Regions from separate parts of the Homo sapiens genome. Here region 1 is linked to region 2. The links are contacts of gene promoters, found by promoter capture Hi-C in human tissues and cell types (Jung and others, 2019). All regions are on one chromosome and are shown on one strand. Each heading gives the region's core, a stretch centred on a gene start or on the middle of the fragment in contact. The rest is flanking DNA. Distances are from core to core; before and after follow the strand shown.

The links. The method cuts DNA at HindIII sites, captures the fragments that hold promoters and counts their contacts. A contact is called where the count stands out against the background at its distance.
Region 1: a contact is called between a fragment that was not itself captured here and the fragment with the promoter of ZNF837 in region 2, in 1 of the 25 tissues and cell types used here (dorsolateral prefrontal cortex).

What each region holds. Positions count from the first base shown.
Region 1 is chr19:57,368,493-57,372,206 of GRCh38, reverse strand. It overlaps ZNF547 (zinc finger protein 547), which reads right to left. Exons shown (of 4, transcript NM_173631.4): 2 at 3,628-3,663; 3 at 299-425. The coding sequence starts at 3,651. Among named protein-coding and RNA genes, the nearest start is that of ZNF547, 6.8 kb to the right of the region's middle. The HindIII fragment of the contact is 8,803 bases long and covers 1-3,714 here.
Region 2 is chr19:58,378,672-58,382,386 of GRCh38, reverse strand. ZNF837 (zinc finger protein 837) reads left to right here and starts at 1,357. Exons shown (of 3, transcript NM_138466.2): 1 at 1,357-1,446. It overlaps LOC105372484 (a long non-coding RNA gene), which reads right to left. Exons shown (of 2, transcript XR_936130.2): 2 at 3,362-3,602. RefSeq lists a silencer at 1,096-1,605 and enhancers at 1,956-2,015, 1,550-2,091, 2,046-2,275, 2,092-2,633. The HindIII fragment of the contact is 47,170 bases long and covers 1-3,715 here.

The DNA of each region.
Region 1 (3,714 bases), core at 1,215-3,714, 1.0 Mb after region 2:
AGCACAGAGGTCTCATGCATTTGAATAGAACACAGGGCCAGTGGGTCTCTATGTCACCTTCAACATTTCTGGATCCTGAGCCCTTTCTTGCAAGCCTCAGAACAGCAGAGGATGGGGCTGCCAGGAAAAAGGAAGCACACAGCACATATTGCAGTCCTGACTCTCATGGAACATATGTCAGGAAACAAGGAAAAGAAGCAGCACCCATGGTCTCACTGTGGGAAACGCAGAGCTGCCTTCAGGTAAAAGGAGACAACACAGCCCAACCCAGGACACTGGGCAAGTGTGAGGGCCTTACCTAGTGAGGACAAAAGGGCCAAATTCTCCAGCATCACATCACGGTACAGCAATCTCTGAGCCTCATCGAGATGCCCCCACTCCTCCTGGGAGAAATATATGGCCACGTCTTCAAAAACCACATGACCCTGCCAAATTGGGAAAGATGAATACATGAGCAGCTTTTCAAACTGTATTTACTTAAGTTCTCTATTTATTTTCTACTTATATTTACCACCCATTAAACACAGGGACAAACTAACAGCTAAATGTGTTTCCATCTCCCCTACCATCCTGGGCACATATTCTTAACCATCTCCATCTCTAACTTTCTCAAACCAAGTCAGTATTTCCCATGCTCTAAATCAACCCAGGGACAGGTACTGCACAACTAGGGACAGTCCCAATAGCCCAGGTGTCCTGGAATTACTAAAACTAGCCAAACTATCCTGACAGCCAGCCCTGCCTTGTTTCCCTTGGAAACCCCAACAGCATCTGTGGACTAAACTAAACTCACTCCAATTTTCCTCCTGATCAAATCTGGTGTTTCACCGTGTGGCCCTGTGTTATGTGGTATGTAACCTCCTTAGGGAAACGTAAGGAATAAATATCTTCTTTCAGTGTCATTGGCCTGTCCCTGGCATCACTCACTCACATCCATAAATTAAAACTCCATGGGGGCCAGGCACAGTGGCTCATGCCTATAATCCCAGCACTTTGGGAGGCTGAGGCGGGCAGATCACCTGAGGTCAGGAGTTCAAGACCAGCCTGGCCAACACAGTGAAATCCCATCTCTACTAAAAATACAAAAATTAGGTGGGCATGGCGGCACATGCCTGTAGTCCTAGCTACTTGGGAGATTGAGGCAGAACTGCTTGAATCCAGGAGGTGCAGGTTGCAGTGAGCCAAGATCATGCCACTGCACTCCAGCCTGGGTGACAACACAGCAAGACTCCATCTAAAAAAAAAAAAACAAAAAACCCCAATGGGTACAATCACTGCTACTTTTCTCTCTCCAGGAACTCATCCCTCTCCCCTACACCTCCTTTCCTTCCTCAATCTCTACACCCTCCCAATGTGGAAGAGAAACCACATCCAGGTGGCATGAGTGACTTTTCTCTCCATATTGACATTGGCCACCGTGTCCAGCACACAGAGGAAACAGATGGAAGATAAGGTAGAAAAGGAATGTGGGCCTCCCGTGGGGGGATCCATCCTCTCCTGCCAGCCAGTTTCCATGGAGTCACCCAGATCTTGCCTCCCAAGACAACCAAACTCAGACTCATCCTCCTCCCTTGAGCTACCAGGGCCAGGGCCTGAGGCCCTCCATTCACACTCCTCCTGCCTGCACATCACTCTTTGGACAGCACTCCAATCCCATCTCTCACACCTCCACTCCAGTCAATTCCACAGACACCTCCCAGCCCACACCACAGGCATTTCCTTCACCTCCTAACAGGCCACTCTGCACACAGAAACCAGGTGGTGCACGGCAAATACGCTCAGCATCCAATTCACTCCCAGTCCTGCCCCAGAACACCAAAGTTCCCTAGCACCGGGGGCAGCCCTAAGCCCTGGGTTGAAGGTTCCCTACATGGCCCTGTTTCTCACTTCACTGTCAGGTGCCCAAACCATGTGAGGACTTCACATACTCTCAGCTGTGTCCTGCCTCATGGACACAGGATTGTAAGTTTCCTGAGGCCTCCGAGTTATGCTTCCTGTTAAGCCTGAAGAACTATGGGCTGGGTGCGGTGGCTCACGCCTGTAATCCCAACACTTTGGGAGGCTGAGGAGGATGGATCACGAGGTCAGGAGATCAAGACCATCCTGGCCAACATGGTGAAAGCCCATCTCTACTAAAAATACAAAAATTAGCTGGGCGTAGTGGGGTGAGTCTGTCGTCCCAGCTATTCAGGAGGCTGAGGCAGAAGAATCGCTTGAACCTGGCAGGGAGAGATTGCAGTGAGCCGAGATTGTGCCACTGCACTCCAGCCTGGGCCACATCTCAAAAAAAAAAAAAAAAAAAAAAAAGAACTGTGAGTCAATTAAACTTCTTTTCTTCATAAAGTACCCAGTCTCAGGTAGTTCTTTGTAGCAATATGAAAACAGACTAATAGAATTCCCATCCTCATCTCATTCCAACTGATGCTTAGCAACTCTCCGACCTCACCCTATTACCCTCCTCAGCAACCCCATCATGTCCACTCTCCTTCAGAAGTCTTTCTCACTCCTATACCCCACCATCTCACATACACTCATCCCCACAAACACTCCATTCCCTCATTTGTCTAGTGACTCCTCCACCACTGCACAGCTACCCAGTAAGAGACCCAGTTCTCATGCCCCATTCCAATTCTCTGTCTTCGAACAGCACTGCCACCATAACCTAGAGATGCTGTCACCTAAACTGAATCCATGGCTTCATCCTGGTCCATACGACAGCCACCATAGTGTGGACGTCTCCAACCTGAACTCCTCCACCAGGAGTCTCTGAGACATCTGTGGCTTGAACAAACACTGACTCCTCACACTCACTCTGAAAATTCCTAATACTGCTGACTTCTCCCATCTTAGCTGATGGAGCATCTATGCTTCCAAACAAAAACCATGGGGCCACTCCTGATTCCCCTTCTATCCCACCCCCCCAGCTGCCTCACTCTCTACATCATAAAATGTGGGCAGCTCCAGTTCAAAACACATCCTGAAGCCACCGCTACTCTTGACAAGTCACCACCAACATCCACCTAGACTGCTGCAGGAACATCCTCTCAGATCTCCCTGCCATTACCCTCACCTCCACAGTCTGTCCTCCACTCAGACGCCAAAGAAAGTTCCTTAAGCTAGGGTCCTATCACTGCCCTCTTCTGCTTCAAATCTTCCCCATCTACCACCTCCCTTAGATTAGAGACCCAGGACCTAGGCTGTCATTCCAGGCCTGATGTTTGTGTGTCTCTAGCCACCTCCCACTCTGCTCCCTATTCCTATCCGATATAACAGACACTTGCAGTTCCCTAAAAATCCAGTTCAGTCTCTCCTCTAAACACTGAAACATTCTTAATCTTGTGCCCATGACACTCTGACAGATGTTACCACGTCAACTGTCAAAAATGGGAGCCACTCCACATAATCCAGGGCCATCCAGGTAAGGTGTCACAGTAAACTTAAAACAATCAAACAAAAATCCCAGACCTAATTTAAGATACTAGAACTGGTGGAATCACTCACTTTTCAGACATAAGAGAGGGAGAAAGACAGAAAGAGAGTCTCTGGACACCACTTTTCTTTACATGGAGGTGCCAAAACCATCTATGAGATAACTGGTAGGTGAAAGGTAGAAAACACTCCACTCACCTGTGCAGGGTTCATTTCTGCCATCGCCAGGGGACCCTGAAGGAAGAGGGAAACCGTGAGAAATGGGCAACGATGGGAAGATCTTAC
Region 2 (3,715 bases), core at 108-2,607:
TCAATTAGCTTGGTAAGCCCTGAGTTTTGTACTTGGGCAGGGAGATAGACCTCCTGACAAGGCTTTCGATGTGCAGACACCCAAAGGATGGAGAAAGGGAGTGGAACAGTCCCAGCATCCCTGAAGCAGATGCAGTGGAGGCAGAAAGGTGGGGCAAACTGGGTCGTTACATGCAATATATGTGCTGGACTGGCCAACAAAATTAGATGTCCCTATTGAGGGCAGGAGCCACACAATAGATGGGGGCAAGAGCTGGGGGTTACAAATGGGTAGGAGGCGTGACCAGTTCATCCTACCTGGGAGGGCCCGTAGAGTCAGCAACACCCAAAGGGGCTGGGGAGGCTGTGGTTCCCCAATGGGGCCGCACGTGTTAGAATCAACTAGGAGCCGGACTAGGGGCCTGGCGCAGTGGCTCAAGCCTGTACTCCCAGCACTCTGGAAGGCTGAGACACGAGGATCGCTTGAGCCCAGGAGTTCCAGACCAGTCTGGGCAACATATGGAGACCCTATCTCTAAAATAAATAAATAAATAAAAATAAAAAAACTATCCAGGCATGGTGGCTCCCACCTATAGTCCCAGCTATTCGGGAGGGTGAGGTGGGAGGGTCGCTTCAGTACAGGAGTTCGAGACCAGCCTGGGCGACATAGTGGGAGGAGGAAGGGAGGGGGAGAAGGAGGGGGAGGGAGAGAAGAAAGAAAATTAGCCGGGCGTGGTGGCGCGCGCCCCTGTTAACAGCTACTCTGGAGGCTGAAGTAGGAGGATCGCTTGAGCTCAGGAGGTCGAGGCTGCAGTGAACCGTGATGGTGTCACTGCATTAGCCTGGGCGACAGAGCGAGACCCCGTCTCAAAAAAGCAAACCAAAAAAAATACAAAAAAATAGACTTAACTGAGGAGTTTTGACGCGCATATGCTCGGGCCCAGTCCCAGATTCTGATGTTATCGGTCTGACTCGCAACGCGCTCACCAAGACACTTCAGAGCTCCCCAGGTGCTTCCCAGCCCAACTCTCCCACCCGAGGGGAGCCTGCGAACCGCAAGTCGGTTCCGGGTTGGGACCTCTTAGAAATCAGATTGGGAGAGGAGGCTATCAATCATAATCATGACCAGTCACCCGCTTTCACGAGAAGGAATGGGCGGGACCCTACGTCCCCGTCCAGAACGCCGTTTCTTTGGCGACGACTTAGGTCCACGCCCCGCCTTTTAGGTGTAGCCGGCCTCTGTTTCTATGATAACCGAAGCCCAAGCCTCTCCCTACACCGCTTTCTCCGCAGCGTCAAAGCGGGACATGACGGGACTACGTTTCCCAGCAGTCCCCGCGCGGGTTCCCGCCTGCGCTTGCTGTGGCCCGGGTCCCTCAGTGCCGCGGCGGCCCGGAGGTGGCGGGAGGACGGCTCCGCGCTGCATGCGGGGCGGGGACCAGGGACCCGTGCGGGCCGCCTCCAGAGAGTAAGTGGCATTCTGCGCGGACCCGCAACCTCGGCCTGCGAGGCGGGGACCTCCCGGCGCATAGCGCGGCCACCACCCCAGTCCCCTCTCCACCTCCGCGCGCGGGGTCCGGGGCAGAGGCGTGACGCCGCGCACTTCCGGTCCTCGCGCTCCGGGTCCGGACCGGCCACACAGCACTCGCGACCTTGAGTTCCGGGCGGGACGGGCTTCTGTAGTTCTGGCCCCCGCGTTTCCGTGCTGGGTGTCATTGAAGCCCGCGAGGGGAGGCTCCAGGCCCGGGACCCATCCTGGCGGCCTGCGGCTCTCGGAGTCAAGCCCACCTGCTAGCCGAGGCCGACGCCGGCCTCCCTACCGTCTCTGCCCCCGCATCCTGGCCTTTGCACTTTGCTCTTTCCTTGTCTGCAGACCGGTTTCATGCCCCCTCTTCACAGAGGCCCGAAGAATCCGCTGCCTCCCTCCCTGGCGCCCTCGCGCTGCTCCCTGTCTGATGTTCTTCACGTCTTTTTCTCTCTTAAACGGTCTCTTGTTCATTTCTTCTTGTCTGCGGTCCCCTCCTTCACTCACTATTAGAGCAGGATGCAGCACCGTTTGGCCCTGACACAGTGGATGTCCTGCGAGGGTTGAAGCTTGCTAATCCTTGAGGGTGGAGGCACTGTCGGGAGGACAGACACAGAAGGGAGCTGTGCCTGCACTCAGAGGACATTTCTTCTGCTGTACAGTGCATGATGCACTGTTCTTCCCATTGCGTGCACAGTGTAGAATTGGACATAGGGGCTAGAGTCTGTGTCCCCTGGGACTGTCAGTGTGGGTGAGGTTGGTCTGTGGCTCAGAGAGGTGGAGCCACGCTGAGCTGGGCACTAGCCTGTGTCCTCCACACCTCAGAGCCACCAACGTTGACTTCCCTGCACATTCTGTTTTTGTTGTTGTTGTTGTTGTTGTTGTTTTGAGACGGAGTTTCGCTCTTGTTGCCCAGGCTGGAGTGCAGTGGCGCGATCTCGGCTCACTGCAACCTCCGCCTCCCGGGTTCAAGCGATTCTCCAGCCTCAGCCTCCCGAGTAGCTGGGATTACAGGCATGCACCACCGTGCCTGGCGACTTCCCTGCACATTCTCTTGGGCAAATAAGACCTCATTGTGCCGTGTGCAACCTCCATGAGGATGTTGAACCTCACTAGCTTTCCTGTGTGTGCTGTTGCTCTGCAGTTCTGCAGGGCTCAGCCTTGGCCACGTTAACCTCTCAGTCCCCCTAAATTGGTAACTCTGCATCCTGTTCCCAACACCAGAAGCCCTAAGGACAACTAGAAAGGCTGGGCGAGCACCCAGGTGCAAGCATGCTCACCTGGGGCAGGTGGGAGGTCACTGTAAGAACAGCCTGGGAGAGCTGTAATGCACCATCAAGGACGGGCTCCTGGGACCTGGGACCCAGAGCCTCGATTGTGTTTGCTGTGCTCAGCCTCAGATCATGGGTCCATGGCTGGAATGCCACCCACCTACAGGTGGGATAGTTGGACAGTGCATCCTGGGAGCAGATCAAGGAGACGAAGAGACTCGGCCATGGTCCACAGCTCCCACCTGCTGTGTCTGGTGCTGGGAGGCAGGTTCTTGTTGCAGCAGAGGAGCCACCCCTGGGAGCAGGGCATCTGGGGACCAATCCGAAGATGCTGTTAGCACATGGCTAGCAGGTGCCCCTCAGCCCCCACCTCCCACAAGTTCAGGGTCCCTTTCTGCCAAGTGGGGACTGCTGGTTCTTCAGGACAACCCAGCTTCCCCAACCCTCTGTTCAGACACTAAGCAGTCCTCTGACTCCCCATCACTAGGGATCAGGAGAGCCCCTTACAACACACACATTCTGTCGAGGGTGCTAGACCAGTCTCTATTAGTTTCTGTGGCTGCTATAACACACTACCACAAACTGGGCAGTTTAAAACAACAGAAATTTACTCTCACAGTCCTGGAAGCCAGAAGTCTGAAATCAAGGTGTCAGCAGTACTGTGCTCTCTGACGGCTCTGGGTGGGGGTCTTTCCTTGCCTCTTCCGGCTTCTGGCGGCTCCGGGTGTTCCTTGGAGTGTGGCTGCATCACTCCAATATCAGCCTCCATCTTCACATGGACCACTCTTCTCCGTGTCAGAACTCCCTTTGCCTCCTTCATAAGGACACCTGTCATTGGAATTAGGGCACACCCAGGTTATTCAGGGTGATCTCATCACAAGATCCTTAATTATGTCTGCAAAGACCTAATAAGGTCACATTCTGAGAGTTCCGGGGTTAGG